Regions from separate parts of the Homo sapiens genome. Here all the other regions are linked to region 2. Evidence: promoter capture Hi-C in 16 types of primary human blood cells and fetal thymus (Javierre and others, 2016). All regions are on one chromosome and are shown on one strand. The core of a region is centred on a gene start or on the middle of the fragment in contact, and the rest is flanking DNA. Distances in the headings are between cores, read along the strand shown. Region 1 overlaps LOC124904413 (a long non-coding RNA gene). Region 2 holds the start of H2AC18 (H2A clustered histone 18). Region 3 overlaps VPS45 (vacuolar protein sorting 45 homolog).

What was found. The method cuts DNA at HindIII sites, captures the fragments that hold promoters and counts their contacts. A CHiCAGO score of 5 or more calls a contact.
Region 1: a fragment that was not itself captured here is called in contact with the fragment with the promoter of H2AC18 in region 2 in 5 of 17 cell types (naive CD8 T cells, naive CD4 T cells, naive B cells and 2 more); the score reaches 7.2 in naive CD8 T cells.
Region 3: a contact is called between a fragment that was not itself captured here and the fragment with the promoter of H2AC18 in region 2, in 2 of 17 cell types (naive B cells and M0 macrophages). The highest score is 6.6, in naive B cells.

Annotation. Positions count from the first base shown.
Region 1 is chr1:150,044,793-150,047,871 of GRCh38, reverse strand. The region is part of intron 1 of LOC124904413 (a long non-coding RNA gene); the gene reads right to left. It also overlaps a transcript of OTUD7B not described here. Among named protein-coding and RNA genes, the nearest start is that of VPS45, 21 kb to the left of the region's middle. The HindIII fragment of the contact is 5,915 bases long and covers 1-3,079 here.
Region 2 is chr1:149,841,210-149,844,140 of GRCh38, reverse strand. It overlaps H2AC18 (H2A clustered histone 18), which reads left to right and starts at 1,391. Exons shown (of 1, transcript NM_003516.3): 1 at 1,391-1,923. The coding sequence starts at 1,443. The coding sequence ends at 1,835. It also overlaps the pseudogene H2BC19P. The HindIII fragment of the contact is 2,631 bases long and covers 106-2,736 here.
Region 3 is chr1:150,084,412-150,087,306 of GRCh38, reverse strand. The region is part of intron 10 of VPS45 (vacuolar protein sorting 45 homolog); the gene reads right to left. Among named protein-coding and RNA genes, the nearest start is that of VPS45, 18 kb to the right of the region's middle. The HindIII fragment of the contact is 2,144 bases long and covers 529-2,672 here.

The sequences.
Region 1 (3,079 bases), core at 408-2,907, 200 kb before region 2:
CAAGCGATTTTCCTGCCTCAGCCTCCCGAGTAGCTGGGACTACAGGGACGCACCACCATGCCCAGCTAATTTTTGTATTTTTAGTAGAGATGTGGTTTCACCATGTTGGCCAGGATGGTCTTGATCTCTTGACCTCGTGATCCACCCGCCTCGGCTTCCCAAAGTGCTGGGATTATAGGCATAAGCCACCACGCCTGGCCTGAAATTATTTTTCTATACAGTTCTTAGAGGAAGTGTTTGGGTCACCTACATAGGCATGTAGTTCTTGACACTGGTTACTAGAGGATTTATAGAGGATGTTCATATATTCAACAAGCATTTGTTGAATACCTATTAGGTGCTAGCCATGGAAATATGGGATTGAAAAAAACAGACAAAAATCCCTAATCTCTCTTACAATCTAGTGAGGACAATCAGACAGTACACAAAATAAGCATAATATATAGTAATCATGTGGTAGTAAGTTCTATAGAGCAAAAACAAGTTTAAAGAAGGAGGTTGGGGGGAGTGTTGAGATGCATAAGGTTTGCAGTTATAAATGTGGTGGTTAGGGAATCATTTGCTGAAAAATGAACATTGAGCAAAAACCTGAAGGATGTTAAAGGAATAAGATACATGTAATCCAGATGAAAGTTTTTTGGATAAAGGAAAGAGCAATTGCTAAATCCCTGAGGTGGGAGTGGGCTGTTCATAAGACAGCAAAGCAGCCAGGGTAGCTGAGTGATTGACAGCGGAAGATGGAAAATGGGGAATAGTTGGTGTAGGACCTAGTTGTGAGGATATTGACTTTGTTTTTTTTCCAAGACAGAGCTGTGCTCTGTCGCCCAGGCTAGAGTGCAGTGGCATGATCTTGGCTCACTGCAATCTCCGCCTCCCGGGTTCAAGCAATGCTCCTGCCTTAGCCTCCCCAGTAGCTGGGATTACAGGCACCTGCCACCATGTCCAATTAATTTTTGTATTTTTAGTAGAGATGGGGTTTCGCCATGTTAGCCAGGCTGGTCTTGGACTCCTGACCTCAAGTGATCTGCCCGCCTCAGCCTCCCAAAGTGCTGGGATTACAGGCGTGAGCCACCATGCCCACCCTAGGATATTTACTTTTATTTTGAATAAGGATGCCACTGGAGGCCAGACGTGGTGGCTAACGCCTATAATCCCAGCACTTTGGGAGGACGAGGCGGGTGGATCACGAGGTTAGGAGATTGAGACCATCCTGGCCAACATGGTGGAACCCCGTCTCTACTAAAAAAAAAAAAAAAATTAGCCAGGTGTGGTTGCATGCGCCTGTAGTCCCAGCAACTCAGGAGGCTGAGGAAGGAGAATCACTTGAACCCGGGAGGTGGAGGTTGCAGTGAGCCGAGATCGCCCCACTGTACTCCAGCCTGGGTGACAGAGCAAGACTCTGTCTCAAAAAAAAAAAAAAAAAAAAATGCCACTGGAGAGCTTTGAGGAGAGGATCAGTCTGGCTACTGGGTTGGGAATTAATCATAGCAGGCAAAGGCAAAAGAAGTGAGGTTAGTTAGGAGGCTTTACAACAACCCAGATGAGAGATGGGAGGTTTTAGCCAGGGAGATGGAGATGTTGAGAGAGTAGCTGGACTCAGGATTGTGACAGTGGACTGAAGGAAAAGCAGGTTTTGGGGGAAGATTGCATTTCTCCCTTCAACTTCAGTTACGTAGATCACCCATATGCCACACAACTGCAACTCTGTAACAGCCAATTTTTAGCTTCTTCCTTATCTAAGCCATCCTGTAGGCCATAGGAATTAAAACTAGGTTGGATCAAGGAAAAGTGAATGCTAGATCCATACAAAACTATTTGGATATTTGCCTTTGTATTTTATTGTTTTGAAATTATTTTTAATGGTTCAATAAACTCTTACTAGAACTACAAGCAATATAATTATTTCCTCTGCTTTATTAGAAATGTTTTTGTAATCATGTTAATTATATTACTTTTAACTATATAAGGCTTGTGTCTCTTTTTTATAAATTGATGTTTATATCCTCTGTAAGATAAATATAAAGGCTTTTTGTTCATATGAGGATGTGCTGTAAGATTGCAGGGAGTATAAAAATTGGCAATGGAGTAGGTGACTTGTATTATTAGTCTGATCTTAATGTTGTAACATACTGATCATGCAAAATATATAATTAGTTTGTTTTTGCTATTTAATATGTGTAGGACTGTAACAAACAGACTAGAGAAGATGGCCATAAGTTACAAGAAAGCAAGTAAATTACTATCTAATTAAAAGTATTTGATTCTAATACTAGCAGAGTTCTGTCTAGAAAATAAATTAACTTTCTGTATGCTTTTTTTGGTCTCAATTTTCCAATAATTTCCCTCAACTCTGATATGTGTCTGTTGAATAATATTTCTGATGTTAAGAATTAAAGGGGGTGTAGATCAGTGGTAGGGCGCACGCTTAGCATGCATGAGGCCCTGGGTCAATCCCCAGCACCTCCACAAAGGTTTTCTGGCTGGACACGGTGGCTCACACCTGTAATCTCAGCATTTTGGGAAGCTGAGTTGGACAGATCACTAGAGGTCAGGAGTTCGAGACCAGCGTGGCCAACATGGTGAAACCCTATTTCTACTAAAAATACAAAAAAATTAGCCGGTCACGGTGGCACACACCTGTAATCTCAGCTACTTGGGAGGCTGAGGCATGACAATCGCTTGAACCTGGAAGGCGGGGGTTGTAGTGAGGTGAGATCATGCCACTGCACTCTAGCCTGGGTGACAGAGCAAGATTCCATCTCAAAAAAAAAAAAAAATTTAGTTTAAGAACAAATAATATTGTTTATTTTCATATGGGATTTGAAATCTGAATCTAATAATTATTGGTATTATTACTAATTCCCTTGCACCACTGAACAATTTTCTGTTTAGGGACGTTGGCTATAACAAGTATATAGACATAGTGATATATAAGTTTTCTGTTTTAAAACTGAGTTTCTTTTTTTCCCCTGCCAATTTAAAGGCACACAATCAGAGAGCTATTTTCACAGGTAACTAATACATCTTGTTTCTGCTTCATATTTTAAACTCTTATTTTTCACCCTTATGAAGTTGGAAG
Region 2 (2,931 bases), core at 142-2,641:
CCTTTAAAACTTACTTAATTTTTCATTACATTTCTTGCCCAGAAAATTGTAAAATACCCAACGATAACAATGGGGAATTGTCTATCAGCACTTGACTAAAAAGCTTTACTATCCATGACAGCAGCCTTTGCATTACTCAATTCTGATGGCATTTAACGTCTTGAAACCCAGAAATAAATACCTATAGACTCACAGTACCTGAAAGGAATACCAAATTGAGACAAGAGAGCTATATAAACCAAAAATTGCTTCAACCACAGAATGGAGGTCTACAGGTGCGGAAGGAAAGTTTATATGGTGAGGCTTGGTCGCAAAACTATTAGGAATATTTTCAGGTTACTACACAATTTTGCGAGCTCAATATGCAGTTAACACTTTTTCCCTTGACTCTCCTGAGCAGATTTACATTGACCGCACCCGTAGCATATCGTCTCACTTTGGAAAAGGCAAATTATGTGCACATGACCCTGTCACTACAAGGTAGTTCTCGACCAAGCTACATCTTATAGCTTTATCTTATATTCCTCTCCCATCATCTGCAGGAAAAGGGATAGGTGCTGAGGGAAAACCCCTAAGTAGAACTCACAGTAAGCAGTGGGAAAACAGCTTATTTCACTAACGGGGTTAAGTGGCCCTGAAAAGAGCCTTTGGAGACAAAGCAGCCGGCGACCCGCGGAGGGAGGGAGGGAGGGAGCGAGCGAGCGCCAGGTCCCGGCAGGGACTCACTTGGAGCTGGCGTACTTGGTGACCGCCTTGGTGCCCTCGGACACGGCGTGCTTGGCCAGCTCGCCGGGCAGCAGCAGGCGCACGGCCGTCTGGATCTCCGGGACGTGATGGTGGAGCGCTTGTTGTAGTGCGCCAGGCGGGACGCCTCTCCCGCGATGCGCTCGAAGATGTCGTTGAGGAAGGAGTTCATGATGCCCATGGCCTTGCACCAGATGCCGGTGTCGGGGTGGACCCGCTTCAGCACCTTGTACACGTAGATGGAGTAGCTCTCCTTGCGGCTGCGCTTGCGCTTCTTGCCGTCTTTCTTCTGGGCTTTGGTGACGGCTTTCTTGGAGCCCTTCTTGGGAGCCGGCGCGAACTTTGCAGGCTCAGGCATGGCCAGACCCAAGACCGACACCGACCCCCGAGAACGCAAGCAGAGCGGTAGGCTCGGGGTCTACCGGAAACGACTGTGTACTTACAGAGGCTGTGCGCATGACGCTGCGTTATGGTTCGCGAGTTTTCCGCGGCGCGCAATGCGAGGGAGACGAGATTATGTAAATGAGTGGATTCTGGCTGAGCTATCCTATTGGCTATCGGGACAAAATTTGCTTGAGCCAATCAAAGTGCTCCGTGGACAATCGCCGTTCTGTCTATAAAAAGGTGAAGCAGCGGCGTTTTCGGCGACTTTCCCGATCGCCAGGCAGGAGTTTCTCTCGGTGACTACTATCGCTGTCATGTCTGGTCGTGGCAAGCAAGGAGGCAAGGCCCGCGCCAAGGCCAAGTCGCGCTCGTCCCGCGCTGGCCTTCAGTTCCCGGTAGGGCGAGTGCATCGCTTGCTGCGCAAAGGCAACTACGCGGAGCGAGTGGGGGCCGGCGCGCCCGTCTACATGGCTGCGGTCCTCGAGTATCTGACCGCCGAGATCCTGGAGCTGGCGGGCAACGCGGCTCGGGACAACAAGAAGACGCGCATCATCCCTCGTCACCTCCAGCTGGCCATCCGCAACGACGAGGAACTGAACAAGCTGCTGGGCAAAGTCACCATCGCCCAGGGCGGCGTCTTGCCTAACATCCAGGCCGTACTGCTCCCTAAGAAGACGGAGAGTCACCACAAGGCAAAGGGCAAGTGAGGCTGACGTCCGGCCCAAGTGGGCCCAGCCCGGCCCGCGTCTCGAAGGGGCACCTGTGAACTCAAAAGGCTCTTTTCAGAGCCACCCACGTTTTCAAATAAAAGAGTTGTTAATGCTGGCCACTCTCAGTCCAGCGTTCCTCAGTAGTGAATAGCGAACCTGGAGCTGACGGGACGGGACGGGACGGGACGGGACGGGACGGGGCGGGGCGGGGCGGGGTGTGTGTGTGTGCGCGCCGTCTTCCATCTGGAGCACGTAACTGCCTTGGCTCTTCGATGAGTGGGTCCCCAGTCCTAGGACTTCCCAGGGCAGGTGCAGGCACCAAACGTCCTGGGCGCCGCCACGGTCCGCTCCACACAGTCACAAACACCAGCGCCGCGGGCAGTACCCAACGCGCTGAAGTGTTGCGCGCGGAGCGCGCGCTTCCCTAGTGGTTTCCGCAGGCTATGGCCGGACACTTAGACCTAGTCTGGCACCAGCGGGACGTGCTCCTCGTCCCCACCCCCGATGGGGAGGGCCCTGAGCGGGTAGTGCTCGCTAGTGTGGCGGAGCTGGGTCTTGGCTTCACTGAGCTGACTTAAGTCTTAGTTTCTGTTTTGTTTTCCAAAGCGCCCTGGCGGCGGAGAGTAAGGGCCTCGGAGGCGGAATCTTGCGTCCTGGGGGCGGGCACCTCTCCCACCCAAAAGGCACCCGACAGGCGAAAAACGATCCGCCAAGTAGCAACTGGGGGCGGGGGGCAAATGGAAGAATGAGGTTCCACGCGGGAGCTGTAGGGCGCAGCAAGAAAGGGGGGGTATTGCGGGCAGTGTGTTCTAAGGAAGCGAAGGGCGGAAAGGGAACAATCTGACAAAGCTGCAATGGAAAATGACTTTCACCCTGAAGGAAAGGGGAAAAACAAGCTTGCGAAACTTCGCCAACTGGTAAGTAGAAAGTGAGGCGGGGTGGGCGGGATTAGGGAGGAATCTGCCCAAGCCAACCGGTGACTTTAGGACGGGTGACGTCACAGCCAATGGACAGCCAGCGCGGGATTTTCAATTATTGTTCCGCCCAATCGGGAAAAGACTGTGCTTATAAAGACGGCTGCGGCGGGGCTAGG
Region 3 (2,895 bases), core at 351-2,850, 240 kb before region 2:
CCTTGCACTGAACTCTAACATTTGTGTGGGCGTAATCAAGGAATAGGAAAAGCAAAGCAAAGCAAAGCAAAAATAGTGTCTTTGGAGATCAAGTTTCCTAAAGGAACTAACATTCATTTATAAGACATCAACGAGAAAACCATTCTTCTTTTCTGATATTTAGAGATTCTTCCATTGTTTCTGGCTAAATCTTTTTTTACTTTTCTGTTTTCTTCTATCAAAACTATGATAAAGCAGCACAGCAAGAAGAAATCATTATGACATACACACATTTCAAACTATTATACAGATTACAGTTGGTCTTGGTAATAAAGATAGTCTCCGTCTTTTTTTTTGTTTTAGTTTAACCTAAAGAACAGGATCCCTTCTTTGTTATCTACTATATTAATGTAGTAAAGTCAGAGAATAACAAAATAAACCAACAGATTAGGACAGTAAGATGGAATTGGCAGAAGACTTCCACATGCTGATCTGACAAAAATGAGCCTAACAGTTTGAGAGAACAGTGTTGTGGGAATATAAAAAGCTTATCAGGGAAAAATGATAGAAAGCAGACAAGACCCAATTCTACTGACTGGTAAATACATCGGAGCCAGTATTCCTTTTCTTAATGACTAGTCAACATAAAATTGAGCTTTGCAGTAGATCTTCTGCTGATCAATACTATTTCTAAAATACTGGCTAAATGTTGTTTTAGAGTAAAAGGATCATTTTTACATTTAATTAATCAAAGTAAAATTGTCAGTCAGTTCAATGTGTCCCAACCACTTTTCTTATAATTTTAATGAGTGGCAAAACAAAACAAAACACACACACAAAAAAACCAAACACTTTTCTGAAATCAGAGAGATACAAGGCTATCACTGAACTAAAAAACATGTCTTGGATGCCATTAAGAAAATTAAATGTACCATCAAATAATAATACTCTTAATGTTGGTAGTTAATATTTCTTGAAAGCTGTAAGTACCAAGTACCATAAGTGTTTTACATGTATTAGCTCATTGCACTCTCACAACAATTCTGAGGTAAGTACTATTATTTTTCCCCCTTTATAGACAAAAGGACTGAGTTTTAGAGTGGTTAGGAATTATTTTCAAACCCAAGCCATCAAAGGCCCAAGCTCTTAGCCACTACTCTATACTGCTTCAAATAGAGCTCTTCCTCCTCATTTTTCTAATAAATATTTATTGAGTCCTTATTATGTATCATTAACAGGATGATTTGAGATCTTTATGAAAGGTCAGGAAAAAATACAAAATAGACTGGTTCCTCTCTCCAAATGAAAAACTGTGATATGACAACACAGGCTGGGCATGGGGGGCAGGGTATAGGGAGGATGGTAAGGGTGGAATTGCTCACTTTCTAAAGATGCTTTTCTTCATGGTATGGCAAATCTTCATTACTAATTAATAAATCTCTTCTGAGGATATGTATATGTTTCAGTGGTAGTAAATTTCACTTTGGTTCTAGTGAAATTCTTTCTAAATGAAATTTTCATTAGCCTACAAAATAATGGTTAGAATGGCAGCAATTTTTAAGTTAACTTTTAGCAATACATGCTTTTTTTTCTTGTCATGATACTATTCAATAAAGCAAACCCCATCTCTACTCACAAACCTCATTTCATTGCTTCATGACGTATTATCATCTAAGGTCAAGCCAAGGAATGCTATAACCCCTCTAGAAGTCAGGCCCCTGACATCCACTTACTATCAAACAAAAGATCCCTTTATAGACTATTTAAGTTATGTTGCCAAATAAGTCGTTTATGATGGGGGACTCCAAATCAACTGCTCACTGTAAAATCCCAATACCCTAGACAAGAAAACCTTCAAAAGATAAGTTCTAAAAATAAAAAGTGGATCACAAATAGAATTTATATTTTTAAAGTGACTATTTTTCTTTTAAAGTGAACACAAAAATAAAGTTTCAGACAAGTTATTACAAGAACTTTTTCTAATTGCTTTCCACATGTAGAGAGATACAAATAAAGACAGTAAAACTGGCTAGTGATTAAGTCTGGTTCTACTGTTTTCAAGGGAAAAATCAAATGATAAAGAAATATAAGAAATTTAAATTTAGTTACGGGACACAATTTTGTTTTTTATTTAATAAGAGGCAGAAAACTCATTTTTTGTGGTAAATATCAGGACATTTCTATTAGGCCCACAAAACAACTATAAAATACTATTAGTAGTGTTGTTTAAAGGCCAAGTTAAATAGATTAGGATACATCTTTACAAAGGATACTATTTAGTGATTAAAAAGAATGCGACTTTAGGTTCTGATCCAAAACCCAACAACAATAAGTCCCAGTAAAGACCCTGGTATAACTAGAGCACCCACAGGTAGACTTCTTTCTTTTGTTTGCACTATGTGTAAAAAAAAAATCATGCTTAGAGGAAGGGAACTAACATTTACAAAGCACCTATTACATGTGAAGCATTTTACATATCTCATTGAATCATCGTAACAGTCTGAAAGTTTGAAATCATAATCCCCAAGACTTGGGCAAATCAAGTAATTTTCCCAAAGAAACTTTGGTAAGGAGAGGTAGGATATAAGCCAAGCCAGTCTGGGTCCAAAACCTGAGTTGTTTCCAATATAACAGGTTGGCATTATTTTATAGAATAAAGTGGAACTGTAGCTGGGAAAGAAAGAAGCTAAGCTTTAGAATATAGGGCCCTATTAACAGGGAAATGTGCTTCTTATAAGTGGCTTAGAAATGGCTATTTCCTAAAGGACTCGTAGTCCTAAATTACTTGTCAGTGACATCATACTTTGTCATTTCTCAGGAAACATGGGATTACCTCTGATTTATTCTATCTTTATATCCAGCCTGTCGTCTAATTCTTCTCCCTTTGAAATGTTTTTCAGTTCAGCCCCTTGCTGT